Regions from separate parts of the Homo sapiens genome. Here all the other regions are linked to region 5. Evidence: promoter capture Hi-C in 16 types of primary human blood cells and fetal thymus (Javierre and others, 2016). All regions are on one chromosome and are shown on one strand. Each heading gives the region's core, a stretch centred on a gene start or on the middle of the fragment in contact. The rest is flanking DNA. Distances are from core to core; before and after follow the strand shown. Region 1 overlaps PPP1R1B (protein phosphatase 1 regulatory inhibitor subunit 1B). Region 2 has its middle 70 kb from the start of NEUROD2. Region 3 has its middle 6.3 kb from the start of TOP2A. Region 4 holds the start of LOC105371770 (a long non-coding RNA gene). Region 5 holds the start of GSDMA (gasdermin A).

Region 1 (4,061 bases), core at 155-2,654, 330 kb after region 5:
ACTGAAGCCCAGCAACAGCTTTTGCCCCCATGGCCAATCTCTTCACTGCCAGATATGCAGGCAGGAGGCCCAAGGCCTTTTGTTTGTGTGGAAGAGCTGACAGCTTCTAGTAGGGGTGGTTGACTCTTCAGTATTCCCATAAATAATGAGACTAAAAAGGTTAATGGGCCGGGCTGGTTCTTGAATTTTAAATTCTACATCTAAACACTAGAGGGCACCCTCCCACTCCATCCTAGGAAGGAAAAAGAGGAGAAACAGACAACAGTCCTGGAGAGGGCAAGTAAATGAGGCAGCCCTCTGCACCCCAGCAGAGACCACATCCTAGGTTCAAAAATGTAGGTGAAATGCAGGTGACAGGGGTGTTGGACTCTCCTGGTCCTCCATCCCTGAATGTCCTCACGCCCCCTTACTGCCATAGGTGGGAAGTCCTCTTTTGGCTCTAGCCTCAAACCCCAAACGGCCTTGGCCTTAATTCTCAGGGAAGAGAGGAATTATTAGGGAAAACCTGATTGGGAGAGGGACTGAGCCAAGGATGGAGGAAACCCATGTCTCAGGTAGGGCTGAGTTCGGGGCACCCCATGGAGCGAGAAGACAGGGAGGCCCCTGTGGTGTCACTACAGTTTGCGTGTATGAGACACTGAACTAGAAGGGGACGTCCTCGTATACTCAAGGAGGACCCACAGCTAATCCACATGTCACAGGCCCCTCAGCTTACCAGACTGCCTGATGACCTTCAGGACTTCAGCCTGGCTGTCCTCTTCTTCTTCCTCTTCTTCATCATCCTCCTCTTCCTCCTCATCTTCCTCTCTTGGATAACCCAGCTCCCGAAGCTCCCCCAGCTCATCCTCCTCCTCTGAGGCCTGGTTCTCATTCAAATTGCTGATAGACTGCAGGTGAGACTCAGCAATGCGCTGCACAGCTGGCACAGAGGAGACCGAGGAAAGCAAGGGTCAGCTAGACACAGCCCATGGATCTGGAGATAGCCTGTGGCCTAGCCCCCAGCCTCCTTCCCGTAGGCCTGGGGCAGAGAATACCCCCTCAGGGGCCCAAGTTCAAAGGCCAAAGTTGACAGGTCAGCCTGATGGGTGTCAGACCAGGGCAGAGGCAGCCAGGGGTAGATTTGATCATGTTTGGCTCTTAAGCTGTCCTAAGATGCTAGCCCCCAGGCAGCTCCCCCACACCATAGGGCACTAGGCTGGGCAAGACCAGGCGGGCACAGCAGCAGCTTAACATTCCCTGGCTGGAGAGCTTGATTTTCCAAGTACCCAGTACGGGAGACAGTGTCTCCCAGCTTCAAGCCCAGGCAGAAGGCACAGGGCGTAGGAACCAGGGCCTGGGGATTTGCCACTTTCCATTTCTTGGGGGTGCCCAGCCTGCTGAGGGCTCACTGCTTACCCTGATCCTACCTCCCATGCGATGCATAGTCCCCACTCCCTGGCACTGCCCAGTCATAGATGCCAATCCACATACTCCTGCCCCGGGCTCCAAGGGACAGAACAATTCCGAGGCTGAGGACATAATAGTCTGCAGCCAGTGCAGTCTGTGCCGGGGGATGCGGCATGCTCAGATGCGGCCCCCACAATCTTGACCCACATCCCCAGGTTCCCAGCTCCCTCTGCGGTGACCTAGAAAGCAACCCCCCCAGCCTCCAAAGACCTGCTCAGATAGGGCTGGGAAGGGAACAGTGTGGGCAGCTGGAGACAAGTTTCCAAAAGATGGAAAGGAGCAAGGGGTTAGAGAAAGGGGCCAAGGCCAGGGGTTCTGGGGGATGGCAGAGGTTGAGGGGCCACTGAGGAGAGGCTGCAGGAGCTGGCAGGATCTTAGAACATATGCGACACAAAGTTCACAGGCCACAGACAAGATGCTGAGGAGGGGCTGGGGGTGGGGAATGGGGAGTTGCTGCAGTTCCTTCTTGGTCTGCCAGTGGCCCCTCCCCTCAGAAGGCCCAGAGGGGTAGGGCCAGGCTGGAAACCTCCGGCACAGTGAGCAGGGTGCTATGCTCCTGCCAACTCGGGGACAGGCACAGAGGGTGCTTTGTATGTGCCCGCTGCCCCACCCAGCCCCCAGCTCCCAGCCCAGTACCTCCTGCTGGCTCTGGGCAAGCTATCCAGGCAATAAAAGCACAATAAATCACCCTACCCTGACCTTGGGGACGCGGCAGAGCTTCATCTTGAGCCAAGTGTGAGAGCTCCAGCCTTGGAGCACAACCCCTCAAGCTAAGACTTAGTGCTGTGCCCCTCTCTCTAGGGCCCTCGATTCTTCCCTGACAAGCCCCAACCCTGCCGGGCACCTTCCCTTGCCCACAAAAGGACTGAAGCCTACAAAACAGTGCCCTCCTGGTAGAGAAGGATCCATGAGGGCTGTGGGGGGAGGTAAGGCAGGAGAGCAGGTGGCAGCCCAGGCAGCTTCCTTCTCCCCCAGCGGGGGAGGAGAGTTCACTTCGTGAGCCACAGTGACAACAGAAGGTGTGTGCGGTGCTTGCGCTGGTGCCCCGTGAGCCTCCCTCGCTTCCCCCACCTCCCTCATGCCTCCTGGGCTCTCTGGGGTCTCCCCATCACTCCTTCCAGGCTGTCTCCTTCTCTGCCCCACTCTGTGGGGCCCCAAACTCCCCCCACCACAAGTCTTCCTTCTTCAGTTGGAAGGTCCCCAGCCTTGCCCCAGACTGGCCACCCCTCTCCTGATCCCTTTCCTCTTCCCTGCCTCTACTCACCTGGACTCTCCTAAGATGTGGCCTAAAGGGGCAGTTGAGGGGGTGCACAATTTTGACCACTGCACGGTGCATGGTAGCACCCTGGCCCTAACATCTTCATCCTGGCCTGTTCGCCCATGCTTGCAGTCAAGAGCCAGGTCTTCCCCTCACATCCACCCAGCCTCTCCCTACCCAGCCCAAGGTGGGAGGGAGAGGGATTTCTTAAATTCTCTCCTGAGAAGATGACACTCTGTCCCTCATGCCTGCTTTGGGGCCCTTCCACACACCCCTCTAGGTGGGGAGGTCCTTCCAGGTGCTGAGCCACACTGCCCACTTGCTGCAGCTCTGACCCTTCATTTTCCTGTCCTGGGGAAAGCAAAATAACCCCTTCCCTTCTCTCCTCCCTTCCCAGCCTCTCCTCTCTGTTCCCAACCCTGGCAAGTGGGCTGACAGGTATACCTGTTGACCTTGGCTGGTGCTGGGAACTTATTAAACCCTCCCCCGAACCACTTCCCAGCATACTCTTCCGGTAGCTCTCCCTCCCAACCTCCGCAGGAGCGGAGGGGGCTGGCCGGGCAGGAAGAGCCCCAGGCAGGAGTTGAGGTGGGGGGTTGGTAGGCAACAGGGCTTAGTCAGGAAGAGGCCCTCCTATGTCCTTCAGGTATATCTCCCCAGCTCCCTGACTAGAAACGAAGCCTCCTCCAGGTTGGCCCAGAAGTCCCCCTCTGACTCGCATCTCTTTCTCTTTGCACACCTTCTTCCCTCTTCTTGGACCTGGGATGCCCTTGCCTGCCTGTTAAATTCCTATGATCCTTCAAATCCAAGCTTAAACATCTTTGTGTACCTTCCTTGACCCTTTTCTTTTTTTATTTTTTCCCGAGACAGGCTCTCACTCTGTAGCCCAGACTGGAGCACAGTGGTGCGATCATAGCTCACTGCAGCCTCAAACTTCTGGGCTCAAGCAATCCTTGTGCCTTAGCCTCCCAAGTATCTGGGACTATAGGTGTGCACCTCTATGCTTAGCTCACTTTTTTTTTTTTCTTGAGACAGAGTTTTGCTCTTTTTGCCCAGACTGGAGTGCAATGGTGCGATCTCAGCTCACCACAACCTCTGCCTCCCGGGTTCAAGTGATTCTCCTGCCTCAGCCTCCTGAGTAGCTGAGATGACAGGCATGCGCTACCACGCCTGGCTAATTTTGTATTTTTAATAGAGACAGGATTTCTCCATGTTGGTCAGGCTGGTCTCAAACTCCTGACCTCAGGTGATCTGCCCGCCTCGGCCTCCCAAAGTGCTGGGATTACAGGCGTGAGTCACTGCGCCCGGCCCGCTTAGCTCACTTTGTAAATTTTTCATAGAGATGGGGGTCTCACTG
Region 2 (3,831 bases), core at 325-2,824, 420 kb after region 5:
CTTGACCAAGTACTGCTACAAAAGTCCTCAATGTGATTTTCATCTCATCATGCTCTGTTCCCTGCTACTGCTTAACAACTCAAATTCCTCATTCAAGCCAATGAGATTGCTCCTCCAACTTCATTTCCTAATACTCCTTTCCTGTACCATTCTGGTCAGCCAATTCACAGCCTCTGCACAAAACATACATGAGCCCTCTTCCATGAGATTCCTCCCACTGCTCACCTTCCTCTTCTGTTCTATGTCCCCTATCTTCTTTATTTTCAAATAATTGTTTCTGAATAAGTCCACTTTCTCCGATTATTTCTTTCCTTTGGTTTCCTCTTATTATAATAGTTTTATATTACAACCTGCATTGATATGTTGACTTACAGATTCCCCACTCTCCACCAGCTGTAAGACTGACCTCTCTCACAAGACCCAGAAGCTTCCTGAAGGTGGGACCCTCCCCCAGTCTTCTTCCTCAGAGGTTGTCCTGTCTGTACACAGGACATGCCTCTGCTAATGATATTAATGCTCCCCACTGAAGCAGCCCTCATGGTATAACTATTGGGATATTATATCAAACAACCATGAGGAACACAATCTTATTCTGTCAATTTTCAAATTGCCACCTGCCTTGAACTTGGCACTGAATCTCCCCAAGATTACAAATTCAGTTTCATGACTTCAAAGTGTTACAAAACAAAACAAAAAAACAAGTACAGTCACCAAAGGAATTTATCTCCTTCATTCATGGTAGATAAATACTATTCTCTTTGAAGACATTTTAGGATGAGAAGCTCCATTTTGTTTCCTATTTGTACAATTAATCCCACATTCTCAGGTCATGACTTGATTTTCCAAAATGAAAATCAATTCCAGAGCCAAGAGTAATCTTGGTCCCTATCAGTCCTAACTCTTATCAACATGTTTTGGAAGGTCTCTAGGAATGGAGAAGTTATTTATGAGTCGCTTTCAACAGTTTGGCAAATACTTCCTTAGATTAACCTCACTCTCAAATGCTGACTCTTTACTTCCTCTAGTTTAGCCCTGTGTGGTTAGAGAGAAAAACGTGGTCTACCACTCCCTTTTATCTCCTACATATTGCTCAGGATACTAGCCTTATGTATGTATGTATGTATGTATGTATGTATGTATGTATGTATGTATGTATTTATTTGAGATGGAGTCTCATTCTGTCGCCTAGGCTGGAGTGAAGTGGCGCAATCTTCACTCACTGCAACCTCCACCTCCTGGGTTCAAGCAAATTCTCCTGCCTCAGCCTCCCGGGAAGCTGGGACTACAGGCTTGTGCCACCACGCCTGGCTAATTTTTTGTATTTTTAGTAGAGATGGGGTTTCACCGTGTAAGCCAGAATGGTCTCGATCTCCTGACCTCGTGATCCACCCACCTTGGCCTCCCAAAGTGCTGGGATTACAGGCGTGAGCCACCGCTCCCAGGTAGCCGGGGTTTGCCATTTATTCATTCTATCCCTTAGCCTCAAGGTGCTAATCAATCAAGATAAAAACAAAGCACTTAGGCAGCGCCTGACACATAGCAGGTACCCAACAATGTTAGTTCCCTTTCTCTCCCTTCTTTCTCGCAACACCATACATGTTCCTCGGCCTTTCTGGGCATTTTTTACTGGTTAAAGATGGTACTGAACCAAACAAACTAATCTTCTTTTGTAGCTCTAACATTCTGTGACTCTAATTCGCATATTCTCGTTTGTTCTTCTATGCACTGCCATCATTTGGATCTAAAATGAGTGGCAGAGGAATACTACTAGTCTCTAGGTTGACTTAGCATACCTAAAACCACTTGCAGGAGTTTTGAAATTCAAACAATACAAATAACTGTTTAATGTGATGCATCCATGTCATTCCTCCTTATTCTTGAATTACTCTCTTGAACTATGTAGATAACAGTGTTAAGTAAATGTCCTTACATATTGCTTAACATATTTGCCCATCTTTTCTAGTTTCCCTACAGAAAATGTCTTCATAGTATCCTAGGGGTTCTTGGCCCATCCTCCAACCCTAAAGGTAAGACTACTGTAATTAAGGGGAATTCTTTACTCAGTATTGGTGCTTTAATGGGGTCTTCCTGAAATGAACTGTGAATCTCTAAGAAAATTATCCTATAAATTTCACTAACTCAACCATAATTTTTCCTTCCATCCTGTATCCCTCTCTTCTTTATAAGCAATTATATCCAAGCTGGGCGCGGTGGCTCACTTTGGGAGGCCGAGCACTTTGGGAGGCCGAGGCGGGTGGATCACAAGGTCAGGAGTTCAAGACCAGCCTGGCCAGCATGGTGAAACCCTGTCACTACTAAAAATACAAAAAATTAGCTGGGCATGGTGGCACGCACCTGTAATCCCAGCTACTTGGGAGGCTGAGACAGGAGAATTGCTGGAACCTGGGAGGTGGAGGCTGCAGTGAGCCGAGATCACACCACTGCACTCCAAGAAGAGCAAGTCCATCTCAAAAATAAATAAATAAATAAATAAATAAATAAATAAATAAATAAAAATAAGGAATTATACCCCAAGTCTCTTTCTGCAGCCCAGCTACCAGACTCTTCTAGTTCTCCCTTCTTACCCTTATTTCCACCTCTTATATTGCTTCATTTTCTGAGACTTTTGGTCCCCTAACAGAAATTATAAATATTAACACTAGTATAAGGCCAAACTAAAAAGTTCCAGACTTTAAAAAAGGGACCAGGCTACTAAGCTTTCTTTAGGTCTTTGAATTCAGCCTGTTTTCTCCAGGTCCAAATGCATTCAAAATTGCATTAGCCTTGGTGAGGAGGGTCATCTACAAGCTGATCCTCACCAAGGGTGTCCCTCATTAGGCACTATTGTAGTTCTGAGACTGAGGAGGGAGAAGGATCCCCTCCTAGAGAGTCCATCAGATAGGCCCCTTAGGTAGAGAAAAGACATCCTCCAAGACTCAGACTTTGTTCTTTACTTAGCTCTGACTGCTATATGGTGGACTTCTTAAAGGTTTCTTCATGCTGCCTCCCTCAGGGTTGGTTTGGCCTGGATAAAATGCCCTTCATTCCTTTAGAGCTGTCAATACTATCTGTAGTTTACAAACATGCCAGAGCAAGATATCAAAAAGTCCATCCATTTACAGGTCCTAGAGAACCTGGGTCTAAGTAAATTTATTTCATGGCTATACCTTCTTATTCCACAGAAGTATGCTGTAGCTGAAGGTTGCAAATTGAGAATGGTCCACTAACAAACTACCCACTTAGAGGGTATGAAAGACAAACTCAGTATCAGTCTCTTTCTCTCAGCCTTGGAGTACTAATTTTTTGAGATAAGAGATATGAGAGAAATCCAGTGGTCAAAGTGTTTTGGCACCCCAGTGATTAATCACCAGGACATTAAAGCAACTCTTATCTGCTTTCTCTTAGATACCAGAGAGCCCTCTTCTCACCAAGCTTTACTTCCCACAGACACCATCTGCAACTGAGCTTAGAAATGTCATCAGCAAAAGCAACAATCTCAGGATATGGAAGAAGAGGATAAAAAGGTGAAGGTTGAAAGAGGGGAAGCAGGAAGACAGAAAGATGACTCCCTGCCTTTCCTGGCCAGGGTACAAAATAATCTTTTGTACCCTACATAACACAAATGAAAAGCTCCTTTCATAGCTCCTAGCAATAAGAAAGTATGGTTAGTTTACTTTCTCCTTCACTTTCCACTACAGTAGGTTGAGGATCCAGATAGACATTTGTCTTCTGAATTGACTCTCATTACCTTTCAAAACAATGAAATAGCAGTAACTCTAAATACCTGGTAGGGTTAAGCAATCAATACCGATGGTAGGCCTAAATTATTCC
Region 3 (4,157 bases), core at 565-3,064, 460 kb before region 5:
GTAGCCTGAGGACTATCAAGATACTCAGTCCAGTTCTGCCTCCCTTTCCTGGTGTGAAAAGCTGAGAGAACAGAGAGGCCCAGCCCTGGCCTCTGCTGTCAGATGGGAGGGCTACTTTACCACTTCCATTCTGTGGGCTGCAGAGGAAGGATGTAGGGAGCTGGAGAGTTTAGGGGTGAGGAAGCAGCAAGGGGCTCATTATGTTTGCCCAGGTCTTGCTGATCAAGTCTCCAGCAGGCATAAAACTAAGGCCAAGCTCCAGTTCCAGCAGCTGCCATCGGCAGGCACTGGTGCCAGAGAGGGGCAATTGGGGATGTCTTAGGGAGCTGGCAGAGCCCCAGCCATACCACTAGGCCACGAGATGGGGGAAGGGATGTCACATAAAGAGTGAAAAGGATCCGTGGCCCTCCTCTGCCTCCCCATACACCAGGGTTCAGCCCCGATGGGCTTGAGCTCCTCTGCAGCCCTGGTTGGGCTCTGTGGGGGGGAAAGGAAGACAAAGCTGCAGGCATACCCTGATTTAAACCAACTCAATAAATGAAAAGTCATATTTGGAATTACAGTGTCAGAACTTGAAAAGCCCTTAACAGTAATTTACCCATTAATTTTAAAAATCTAAGCAGTGGAGCCCTGTGTTTAATGAAGTTTTACACAGAACCTAAAATATGAAAAGATGAAAGTGGGACTGTTCTGGATTGGTTAACTGGGCCTCACCTCCTCCAAGTGCTTTCACTATCACCTCTCTCTTTTTTTTTTTTTTTTTTTTTTTTTTTTGAGACGGAGTCTCACTCTGTCACCCAGGCTGGAGTGCAATGGCGCGATCTCGGCTCACTGCAAACTCCGCCTCCCGGGTTTGCACCATTCTCCTGCCTCAGCCTCCCGCATAGCTGGGACTACAGGTGCTCACCACCATGCCCGGCAAATTTTTTTTTTTTTTTTTTTTTGTATTTTTAGTAGAGACAGGGTTTCACTGTGTTAGCCAGGATGGTCTCCATCTCCTGACCTGGTGATCTGCCCGCCTCGGCCTCCCAAAGTGCTGGGATTACAGGCGTGAGCCACCATGCCCGGCCTCACTATCACCTCTCTGAGACTGTGAAGAAGGCATTTTGCAACCCAATCCTCTAGCTGGGGTACCTCAACTTCAGTTTACAGGTGGGGAAACTGAAAACTAGAGAGAGAAGGGGATTTACCCAAGCTCGTGCAACTAGGGACAGCAGAGCTGGTCTGGGACTTCTCACCACAGCACAGTGTCCCTTACTTTGGTCCAAAGATTTAACTTTTCTGCAGAGTTCTTAGCACTGAGTTCCCAAGTCTACTGATAATCTATCTTTATCTATAAAAATTACATTCTTACACAAACGTGTATAGACAGGTATGCCTGCCTTCAATGAGGTGGGGGAAGGTGACAGGGGTGAGAAGGGTGACCTTACTTTTAAATTTTCAAATAGGAGGAAAAATACAAAAAGCAACTCTTGGCTGGGTGCAGTGGCTCACGCCTGTAATCCCAACACCTTGGGAGGCTGAACTGGGAGGACCACTTGAGCCCAGGAGTTGGAGACCAGCCTGGGAAACATAGCAAGACCTCGTCTCTAAAAAAAACATTTTTTTTAATCAGCCAGGCTTGCTGGCACAGGCCTGTAGTCCCAGCTACTTGGGAGGCTGAGACAGGAGAATCGCTTGAGCCCAGGAGTTTGAGGCTGCAATGAGTCATGATGGTGCCACTACACTCCAGCCTGGGCAACAGAGCTGAAACTGTGTCTCAAAAAGAAAGAAGAAAGGAAGTCTTCCTTTCCCTCCACCTCCTTACAATTCCTTCCAGATATTCTCAATCCATATATATATACATATATATATACTCAATCCATATATATACACATATATGTGTATACACATATATGTATATATAATATATACACATATGGGTATACACATATATGTATGTATAATATATATAATTTTATTTACTCAAATGGAATTATGCTCTAGACAGTATTTGCCTCACTTTTTAAAAAACTTAACAGTATATCTTAGAGATACCTCCATATCAGTACACTTAGACCAATGTCCATCTCTTTAATAGCTGCATATCATTTCATTCCATTAGCTTGCTGCCAGTTATTTTCTATTAAAAACAATATTGCAATAAATAGGCCGGGTGCAGTGGCTCACACCTGTAATCCCAGCACTTTGAGAGGCCGAGGCGGGTGGATCACTTGAGGTCAGGAGTTCGAGACAAGCCTGGCCAACATGGTGAAACCTCATCTCTTCTAAAAATACAAAAATTAGCTGGGCGTGGTGTCATGTGCCTGTAGTCCCAGCTACTCAGGAAGCTGAGCCAGGAAAAATCACTTGAACCCAGGAGGCGGAGGTTGCAGTGAGCCGAGATTGCACCACTGCACTCCAGCCTGGGCGACACAGCAAGAATCCGTCTCAAAAAAAAAGAAAAAGAAAAAGAAAAGAAAAAGAAAACCACCAACATTGCAATAATCCTATACATATGTACATACATCTTTGCACAATTCCACAACTGAATTGAATTGATTGAATTCAGTATTCCTAGAATTTAAACTGCTGAGTTACAAGGTGTGTACATTTTAAAATTTTTGATGGATAGGGAACTTCTGTGCAGACTTAGGGATTACTCAACTCTGGTCCTGAACTGCTCCCCTCTGTAACCTCCCTTGCTCTCCTCCCAACTTTGTCCACATTTCTTTGACAGGGGCCACCTAGAGGCTAGGCTGTATGGGACATTTTGGGTTTTCTTGGCCTCCTCCAACCAGAGGCTGGTATCCCTGGTAAAAAAATAAACAAATAAAAATAAATAAATAAATAAACTGACCAGGCTCGCCAGTTGTCAACCTCAAGGTAAACAGAGCTTCTTGGCCCAGCCCTAACCACCTGAGTACTCTGGCGCTGGCTCAGCCTCATCCAGGAATTCCCAGTGGGCTCCAGCCTAGCCAGCTCCAAACCCCAAATCCAGAGCCACACTTTCAGTCCAGCCTCCTTCTGCTGGGAAAGCCTGCAAAAGAGAAGAAATGCTGCTCTTTCTAGGGGACCTTCCAGATCCATGAAGGGGACACTATGCCTCCAGGACCTTCCCTCCCCTTGCCAAAGAGCAGAAAGAACGGAAGCACACAACCCAGGAGAAAACAACCAAAGAATACTTATAAAAGGAACTTATCTGCATATGCAAATATACCTCAAAAGACTTGAGGAGGTTCAATGAAAAAGACTGTCAGAGAAGGCTCCCTGGGTAGGAGAATTTTGAGCTGGTTTTGGAGAAGGAATTGGTGGGACTAGCAGGGAAGGAAGATCCTGGAAAGGAGCAGAGGTAGTCATTGTTAACATGTCTTGAGCACTTATTACTTGCCAGACAATGCACTAAGAATTTGGTGTAAGAATTTTGCAGAGTGGGGCAGGGTGGGTGGATAATGAGGATAGCTCACCCTATGAAGAGCAGGAGGAGGTACTCCCATTATCCCCATTTTAGATTGTTAAAAATTATAGGCCGGGCGCCGTGGCTCACGCCTATAATCCCAGCACTTTGGGAGGCCGAGGCGGGTGGATCACGAGGTCAGGGGTTCGAGAATAGCCTGACCAACATGGTGAAACCCCATCTCTACTAAAAATACAAAAATTAGCTGGGCGTGGTGGTGGACACCTGTAATCCCAGCTACTCAGCAGGCTGAGGCAGGAGAATTGCTTGAACCTGGGAGGTGGAGGTTGCAGTGAGCCAAGATCACACCACTGCACTCCAGCCTGGGCGAAAGAGCGAGACTCCGTCTCAAAAAAAAAAAAAAAAAATTATGGGAGGTTGGCTGGGAGCGGGGGCTCACTCCTGTAATCTCAGTGCTTTGGGAGGCCAAGGCAGGCAGATCACTTGAGGTCAGGAGTTCAAGACCAGCCTGGCCAACATGGCGAAACCCGCCTCTACAAAAATTAGCTGGGTGTGGTGGTGCACGCCAGTAATCTCAGCTGCTGCAGAGGCTGAAGCAGGAGAATTGCTTGAGCTCGGGAGACCGAGGTTGCAGTGAGCCGAGATCGCACCCCTGCACTCCAGCCTGGGCAATAGAGTGAGACTCCGTCTAAAAAAAAAAATTATGGAGGCCATTGTTTTCAACTGAGCTCCTACACTAGGCCCCAAAAGACTAGACCAA
Region 4 (4,061 bases), core at 16-2,515, 390 kb after region 5:
GCCCCAACTATATTCCTGGACTTTGTGGAGGAGGCCCAATGTAGAGACCAGGAATGATGAAAAAATTTCATTTTACAGAGGAGGAACTTAGGACTCAGAAAGGGAGGTATAACAGGCCAGAGCCACGGGGTAAGTCAGGAAGCTCAGAACTGGGGCCTCTGACTCTCAGTCCAGTGCTCTTCTTCACCTGCATCATGAATCTGAAGGAACATTTTCAGCCACTTGTCCAGTCCCAGGAGAGCCTACAAGGGGCTGGAGTTTTGGGAGGCAGTGGGAGAGTTGCTCCAAGAGGCTTTTCCTGAGGAGAAAGGAACAGAGGGGCTGGGGAGGCTTCTTAACTCCCTCTCCTGCCTCAACACACACATTGACACACAACGGCAGAAATTTTATTTCCAAATGTCCCTTCTCTGGGGAGCTCGCTGTTTCCCAGGAGACGCCGGGTAGAGATGCCCCTTCCTGCCAGCCTCCCTGGCAGCCACTAGGCGGCTGTGGCTTCATCTTTTGCCTGGAGACGCCACAGTGAGGGTCCCACATGGTTTGTATTAATAGGAAGTGGAGCTGAGGGCTATAGGCGCTGAAGATAGGGCAGGCCAGCCAGGGATGGGTGGGCAGACAGGCCAGTGGGTAGACTAAGGCAGCCACACACAGGGCCACACTGAACAAAGGTCCTGGGCAGCTTTGCAAACCTAGATACATGAGCTAACCTGATTCTGGCTACTGGCAAACTGGAAGTATTTTTATTGTGTTTTCCCTTTGAATATAAAGATACTGGATGACTGGTGTAAAAATAGGGAATTCCAACAAAAGGGAATGAACAAAAGCCCCAGACTCAAATTTTAGGATGTCTTTTCCCGTAGGAAATGAATTAGCCTCTGACAGAAGTCTAGGGGAAGAGTCTGCTGTACTCAGGAAGGACAGGAGGAAGCATCATGACACTGTGGAATGCTCTAGAATCTGGGAGGTGTCCCTGCACCGACCCCTAGTATTGGAGAGCCTGCTGTGTGCATTGGTCTGTTGTCCCCAGATCAGTAGTTTCACAGTGGGGTTTTATTTCTTGAGATGGAGTCTCACTCTGTCACCCAGGCTGCAGTGTGCAGTGGCACGATCTCAGCTCTCTGCAACCTCTGCCTCCCGGGTTCAAGTGATTCTCGTGCCTCAGCCTCCTGAGTAGCTGGGATTACAGGTGCGCACCACCATGCCTGGCTACTTTTTGTATTTTTAGTAGAGACGAGGTTTCACCATGTTGGCCAGGCTGGTCTTCAACTCCTGACCTCAGGCGATCTGCCCACCTCGGCCTCCCAAAGTCCTGGGATTACAGGCATTAGCCACCGAGCCCGGCCTCAGTGGAGTTCTTTCCATCCTGTGTTTTTTCCATACTCCCAACCTGCTGGGTGCACCATGCTGCCCTGCTGTTGTCACCCAGTCAATGTGGGTTGCAAGAATAATGAATTTACAGAAGAGGAAACAGGCCCTGAGATAGACACTGAAGTTGCCAGAGAGGCTCAGATCACATTCACAAGCATGACAGGTATACATTAAACGGCCTCAAATTCTCCACCAGTTCCCTCTTTCCCAGGGCTGAGAGGGATCAAAGGTTGGAGTCTATGGAAGAAACTTCCCAGGTCTGGCCCTTGGACAGGACAGGGGCAAGGCACGAGAGGGAGACTGTCAGGGATTGTGGGAAGAGAGGACCCAAGGAGAGAAGGACAGTAGTAGAGAGCCTGGTGTAAACCTAGATATTGAATCCGTGCAATGCCAATGAGGTAAAGAGCAGTTTTGCCCCTCTACTGTGACAATGGGGCGGCTTTGGCTGGAAGGTTTGAGGTAATCTTCCAGTTAAGCAGGGATTTAAGCATATGGAGAAGACTCACCTCCCTCAAGGTATCCACCCAAAACAGCAGCAGGGATAGAGGTCAGCCCCTTATCTCCCTTTCTTCTTTTTGCCAGAGGACTTAAGGTCCTGCCATCTACACATTACATATTATCCCATTTAGTCATTGGCAACTGGCTTATCCCTATTGTATAGATGGATAAGCCATGGCTAAGAAAGGTAAAGCGACTTGCCCAGGCTACAAACCAAGTGGCGGAACTAAGTAGATGCTCCAATCTCAGTTCTGGCCCCAGATGCTCTTTTTTTTTTTTTTTTTTTTTTTTTTTTTTTTTTTTTTTTTTGAGACGGAGTTTTGCTCTTGTTGCCCAGGCTGGAATGCAATGGTGCAATCTTGGCTCATTGCAACCTCTGCCTCCCGGGTTCAAACGATTCTCCTGCCTCAGCCTCCAGAGTAGCTGGGATTACAGGCGCCCGCCACCACGCCCAGCTATTTTTTTTTTTTGTATTTTTAGTAGAGGCGGGGTTTCACCATGTTGGCCAGACTGGTCTCGAACTCCTGACCTCATGATCCGCCCGCCTCGGCCTCCCAAAGTGTTGGGATTACAGGCGGGAGCCACCGCACCCGGCCCAGATGCTCTTTTTAAGGTGTCAGTACTTGGTTTGGGCGTGGGGTGGGCACACCATGCTGGATTCTGGGGAAAAGGTCCTCTCCCTCACACAGACTCCTGGCCTTCCTTTAAGCTTAGATCCTTGCGGGGTGTCCTGTGTTGGTTGGGTCCAGACCCTGCCCCTGCTTCTACTGAGAACTGTACTGAGAAGATGCCCAGGGAGGCACATAAGACACGCGTCACCAGGCCTTGACACACGTGACCAACGCTCCTCAGAGATGTCACCTTTCCCGTTTTACCAGGGCTTGTTTTCCTGAAGTTCTCAGTCCTCCACTGTGTTCTTTCCCCACCCCAACCTTTCCATATCCTCCCGGTTCAGAAGGCGCAAAATCTTTGCTGAGGGCGGGCCGAGGCAGGGTGTACGCGGCCCAGAGCTGGAACCTTGGAAGAGCACCGACCGGACACTGCTCCGCTCTCCCTTGGGGCCCTCCCCTCCCCGCCCACCAAGAGAGCAGAGGCGGGGCCGGTCCTCCATCCCCGCCCTGCCTGGCCAGCCACAGCAGGGTGGCCTGAGGAGCGGCTGGGGGCGAGGGCCGGGGAAGGGGCCTGCAGATGCCGCCTCCGCCTCCCTTCCTTGTCCGGGGCCCCCATGGTGTCGGGGAGCAGGAGGAATCAATCAGGATAATGAAGCCGCAGCCTGCCACGCACTGCGGGGGCACTGAGGAGCGGGGGCCGGTGCCAAGTCCGCCAGACGGTTCGGAGGAGCGGAGCCCGGCGCGGCCCGGCGGCGGCGGCGGCGGCGGCGGCGATGGCGGAAACCCGAAGGCCGCGCGCTAAAGCAGGACGCAGCTCCGCGCAGGGCGCTGGCAACCGCGCCTTGGCAACCGGGACGCCCGAGAGAAATCTTAAAGCTGCAGTGGCCTCTTTCCCCTCCATTGCGGTCGCCGCCAGGACCCCAGGGGAAATGGTCGTGCGGGCAAAGGTTGCTGGTGGGGGTCAAGCTCTGAGCCTCTCAGGACTTGGGAGGCCGACTCATACACTCGCTCACTTATTTATTTTATTTTATTTTATTTTATTTTGAGACGGCGTCTCGCTCTATTGGGTAAGCTGGAGTGCATTGGCGCGACCTCGGCTCGCTGCAACCTCCGCCTCCCGGGTTCAAGCGATTCTCCTGCCTCAGCCTCCCGAGTAGCTGGGATTACAGGCGCCCGCCACCACGCCCGGTTAATTTTTTTGGACTTTAAGTAGAGACGGGGTTTCACCATGTTGGCCAGGCTGGTTTTGAACTCCTGACCTCAAGTGATCTGCCCGCCTCGGCCTCCCAAAGTGCTAGCATTACAGGCGTGAGCCACCGCGCCTGGCCGTATTTATTAAATGTGTGTTGAACTTACGTACCCGAGCACAGGCTAGACACTAGGGAGGGGAACGGGCGGTGATTAGAAATGAACAAGATCCTGCCAAGAGGAATTCACAGTCTAGCGCGCGAGGCAGACCAGAATGGCTGAGGTGAGCAGAGCCTTGTGTTACCCAGGATAAAGGGGCTTGGCTGGAGGGCTGACGGGGGGTGTTATAAAATATTCCTGCAGCACCTGCCTTGCTCCAGGCCGTGGGTTGGATGCTTC
Region 5 (4,335 bases), core at 1,148-3,647:
ACTCCACGCTCATTTTCTTCACTGCCACGGAGCCCAGCTGGAGCACTTCTTTTCTTTCTTTTCTTTTTCTTTCTTTCTTTCTTTCTTTATTTATTTCTCTTTCTTTCTTTCTTTCCTTCCTTCCTTCCTTCTTTCTTTCTCTCCCTCCCTCCCTTTCTTCCTTCCTTCCTTCTTTCTTTCTTTCCTCTTTCTTTCTTCCCCCTCTCCCTTCCTTCCTTCCTTCCCTTCCTTCCTTCCCTCCACCTCGCCTTTCCTTGCTTTGCTTTCTTCTCTTTTCTTCCGAGACAGGGTCTTACTCTGTTGCCCAGGTTGGAGTGCAGTGGCGTGATCACAGCTCACTGCAGCCTTGACCGCCAAGGCTTAATTGATCCTCCCACTTCAGCCTCCTGAGTAGCTGGGACTGCAGTCATGCACTTGGCTAATTTTTAAATTTTTTTTGTAGAGACAGAGTCTCACTATGTTTCCCAGGCTGGTCTCAAACTCCTGGCTCAAGTGATCCTCCCACCTCAGCCTCCCGAAGTGCTGGGATTACAGGTGTGAGCCACTGCGCCTGGTCTAGAGCATTTATTTAGCAATGGAAGTAAAGCTTTCTCTCACACCAGAGACTAGCAATAGCCAGAGTCGGAGGACACCAGGGGAGGGAAGGAGATGCTGCTGGCAACAAGAGCCTGGGTGGCCAAGCTGTTCACCTGCCCCAGTTGCCCTTTCCATGTGTGGGTTACACTTCCCTGCACCCTGTCCTTCCCTCATGCGTGCCACAGGTATGAGTACACCCACTCCCCTCTCACAGCCCCTGGGGGATGCCTGGATCCAGACTTTTTTTTTTCTTTTTGAGATGGAGTCTTACTCTGTTGCCCAGGGTGGAGTGCAGTGGTGCCATCTCGGCTCCCTGCAGTCTCCACCTCTCAGATTCAAGCGATTCTCCTGCCTCAGCCTCCCGAGTAGCTGGGACTGCAGGTGTGTGCCACCACGCCTGGCTAATTTTTGTATTTTTAATGGAGACAGGGTTTCACCATGTTGGTCAGGCTGGTCTCGAACTCCTGACCTCAAATGATCCGCCCTCCTTGACCTCCCAAAGTACTGTGATTACAGGTGTGAGCCTCTGTGCCCAGCCAGGATCCAGGCATTTTGATGCTCTTCACCTTTGCCCCCTCTGCTTACAATACCCGCTTCCGGATCTGAAGACTCCCTAGTCCTCCGCTAATGCTCAATTCAGGTCACCTCCTGGAACCTCTTCCCTCAGTCCTCCAGGCAGCTGGTGACTGTATCTGTGTTTCCAAAGCGCTCTTCTGATGCACCTTCCTTTGTTATGATCTGTTCACCTGACCCTATCAGCAACTCGTCTGTGACTTCCCAGAGGGCAGGAAATGGGTCTTAGTCACCTCTGCAGCAGCAAGTACCACACCTGGCACAGAGTTCGAGCTTGGCAAATGTGTGTGGAAAGAACCAATGAATGTGGCCCTGAGAGATGTGCGCTAGGATGAGAGGGCCCTGGAGAATGTGGGGCCCATGGGAACCTGAGAGGCAACATTTTTTTTTTCTTTTTGAGATGGAGTTTCATTCTTGTTGCCCAGGCTGGAGTGCAATGGCATGATCTCGGCTCACTGCAACCTCCATCTCCTGGGTTCAAGTGATTCTCCTGCCTCAGTCTCCCAGGTAGCTGGGATTACAGGCGCCTGCCACCATGCCCAGCTAATTTTTGTGTTTTTAGTAGAGACGGTGTTTCACCATGTTGGCCAGGCTGGTCTTGAACTCCTGACCTCAGGTGATCCGCCCATCTCACCCTCCCAAAGTGCTGGGATTACAGGTGTGAGCCACCGCACCTGACCTGAGGGTCAACATCTTAAGTCTCTGTCTTTGAAGTTTGAGTCCAGGTGCTCTGGCTGGGTGGCCGATCGGCACACCCCAGTTATCCCCGTGGGTGGAAGAGGCCACACCAGCTGGCTTGGAAGCATCCCACATCCACCACAGGCACTTCACAGCAGCAGGGGGGGCAGGAAGCACGGCACAGATGCGTGGGGCTGTTCTGCCAGCTTCAAGGTGCTTTTTTTTTTTCACCCTCATTCCTGGGAGGGCCAGGATGGGGCAGGACAACCTCCTGGTGCTACCTGGGTGCACCTGGGAAGGGCTTGGGCAACAGCAGCCTCCTCTTCACCAGAGAGATGTCCACAGGCCTGCCTCTCCCTTCCCTCCCCAAGGCCTATCGGGATACTTATCCCACTGGACTCTAGGGGAGTTCCATTCCCTTCTTGGTCCACCCATCTTCCTGTGTCCTCAGAGCACCCCTGCCTTCCCTGCTGTCATCAAGTTCTTACCTGGGAGCGGGGCTGGGTCCTATCCAGCAGCTGGGTCTGGGGTGAGGGCCTAGGGCTCACTGGGTCTGTAGGTTGAGAGGATGACCATCCCTTGCCAGGACAGGCTGCTTTATGCAGGGACAGAGGCTTCCGGGGACCCCGCCTGCCCTAGTGACCCCACCCCCCTCCCACTCCACTTCCTGGAGAACAACATCAACCTGTTCCACGTGTGCCCTGGCCTCCTGAGGGCTGAGGGGGTGGATAGGGAGCTGCCAGGCAGGTGCCAGCGTGGGTGGGGGTAGCCAAGGCTGATAGAGAGGTGGCAGCTGGAGGTTGGCTTGTGGATTGAGAGGAGAGGAAGGCAGGTGCCTTTGGGAGGGGTGCAGAGGGAGGCAGTGGGAGTGTGTGTGTGTGTGTGTGTGTGTGTGTGACCAGGGATGGCATCTCTGTTCTGTCATCATCACCGTCATTGGGGAGCATCTCGGATTCATGGTGGGGGTCTGCGGGTGTCCTGGGATAGGGATTCCTGTATGTCCACACATTCCAGTAGAGAGCAGAGCATCTGCAGTGCCGCCCTCCATCCTGGGCTTGTCAGCCTGTGTGTATTGCTGCCTTACTCCATTTGTTTTAGCTACATAGACATAACTCTGATACCGCTAGAAGCAGATGTCTGAGTAGGCAGAGATGGAGTTAGACCAAATGGGTTTGTGTTGTTTAGTGTTCAGCGTCTCTGCTTCTCACAGAATATTGTATACACACATCAGCATATCCGTAGGCAGGGGCACGGCGATATTCATGGAAAAGCCCAGGAGGCTTGTCGTGGGCTTTCAGATGTTGCACCAGAGGTCACTCAGGTCCTCCTCTTAGCTTAAATCTCTGCCTAGAAGGAATTTTAAAGGAATTTCAAATGTTGCCTACATGGTCACATTGCTAGAGGACAGAATAAGGGACTTACAAGCAAGGCCCTTACAGTGTTGGGCCATGTGGCCATGCATATGTGCAGGTATAACCTGACACAGCAGAGCCTTCCTGCTCCCACCTTGAGGCTCTTCTTAGTACCACTCATGGAAAAAGAAACGCAACCCTGAATGCTGTGAAGAGTAAATTCCATCTTTTTTTTTTTTGAGAAGGAGTCTCGCTCTGTCCTCCAGGCTGGAGTGCAGCGGTGCAATCTCAGCTCACTGCAACTTCCACCTCCCGGGTTCAAACAGTTCTCTGCCTCAGCCTCCCGAGTAGCTGGGATTACAGGCATGCACCACCATGCCTGGCTAGTTTTGTATTTTTATTAGAGACGGGGTTTCGCCATGTTGGCCAGGAGGGTCTTGATCTCCTGACCTCATGATCCGCCCGCCTCGGCCTCCCAAAGTGCTGGGATTACAGGATGAGCCACTGCGCCCGGCCAATTCCATCTTTACTGAACGTTTCCTTGAGGGGCTGATGGTGAATGAGACTAGACCATTCCACACTTAGGAAAACTCCCTAAAATAGTCATTACTCCACTTGTGTCCCCAAAGTCTCATTCAATATGACAGATGCTCCCAAATATCTCTTCTCTATGTCTTGAAACAGAACAAAGCCAAGCCTTGCCTCTGCCTCTCTGGTCCCTGCTCACTCTCTTTTTCTTTACATACTTTCCCATCCACCCTACACCTTTTTGAGACGGGGCCTCGCTCTGTCACCCAGGCTGGAGCGCAGTGGCTTGATCATGGCTCACTGCAGCCACCCAATACTTCATCCTCCTTCCACAGCTCCAGCCATTCCAGCAATCAAATGTCCCTTCTCCTTAGGAGAGGCAGAGGTGGGGGCTTGAGTGTGTGGGAAGGTTGTCGTTAGGCTGGGTGCGGTGGTTCACGGCTGTAATTCCAGCACTTTGGGAGGCAGAAGTGGGTGGATCACCTGAGGTCAGGAGTTCGAGACCAGCCTGGCCAACATGAGGGAAACACCATCTCTACCAAAACTGCAAAAATTAGCTGGGCGTGGTGGCAGGTGCCTGTAATCCCAGCTACTTGGGAGGCTGAGGCAGGAGAATCACTTGAACCCG

The links. The method cuts DNA at HindIII sites, captures the fragments that hold promoters and counts their contacts. A CHiCAGO score of 5 or more calls a contact.
Region 1: a contact is called between a fragment that was not itself captured here and the fragment with the promoter of GSDMA in region 5, in 11 of 17 cell types (activated CD4 T cells, total B cells, megakaryocytes and 8 more). The highest score is 10.2, in activated CD4 T cells.
Region 2: a fragment that was not itself captured here is called in contact with the fragment with the promoter of GSDMA in region 5 in 1 of 17 cell types (total B cells); the score reaches 6.4 in total B cells.
Region 3: a contact is called between a fragment that was not itself captured here and the fragment with the promoter of GSDMA in region 5, in 1 of 17 cell types (neutrophils). The highest score is 5.1, in neutrophils.
Region 4: a fragment that was not itself captured here is called in contact with the fragment with the promoter of GSDMA in region 5 in 1 of 17 cell types (naive B cells); the score reaches 6.5 in naive B cells.

The regions. Positions count from the first base shown.
Region 1 is chr17:39,630,741-39,634,801 of GRCh38, reverse strand. It overlaps PPP1R1B (protein phosphatase 1 regulatory inhibitor subunit 1B), which reads right to left. Exons shown (of 7, transcript NM_032192.4): 5 at 716-919. LOC124903998 (a long non-coding RNA gene) reads left to right here. Exons shown (of 2, transcript XR_007065749.1): 2 at 1-164. Among named protein-coding and RNA genes, the nearest start is that of STARD3, 4.4 kb to the left of the region's middle. RefSeq lists enhancers at 1,601-2,520, 2,521-3,440. The HindIII fragment of the contact is 4,225 bases long and covers 1-3,516 here.
Region 2 is chr17:39,536,230-39,540,060 of GRCh38, reverse strand. It overlaps a transcript of CDK12 not described here. Among named protein-coding and RNA genes, the nearest start is that of NEUROD2, 70 kb to the left of the region's middle. The HindIII fragment of the contact is 2,290 bases long and covers 430-2,719 here.
Region 3 is chr17:40,422,084-40,426,240 of GRCh38, reverse strand. No RefSeq gene overlaps it. Among named protein-coding and RNA genes, the nearest start is that of TOP2A, 6.3 kb to the right of the region's middle. The HindIII fragment of the contact is 5,218 bases long and covers 1-4,157 here.
Region 4 is chr17:39,572,812-39,576,872 of GRCh38, reverse strand. LOC105371770 (a long non-coding RNA gene) reads left to right here and starts at 3,743. Exons shown (of 2, transcript XR_934745.3): 1 at 3,743-3,945. RefSeq lists an enhancer at 1,743-2,317 and a silencer at 2,983-3,252. The HindIII fragment of the contact is 2,619 bases long and covers 1-2,574 here.
Region 5 is chr17:39,961,066-39,965,400 of GRCh38, reverse strand. It overlaps GSDMA (gasdermin A), which reads right to left and starts at 2,397. Exons shown (of 12, transcript NM_178171.5): 1 at 2,316-2,397. The HindIII fragment of the contact is 5,749 bases long and covers 589-4,335 here.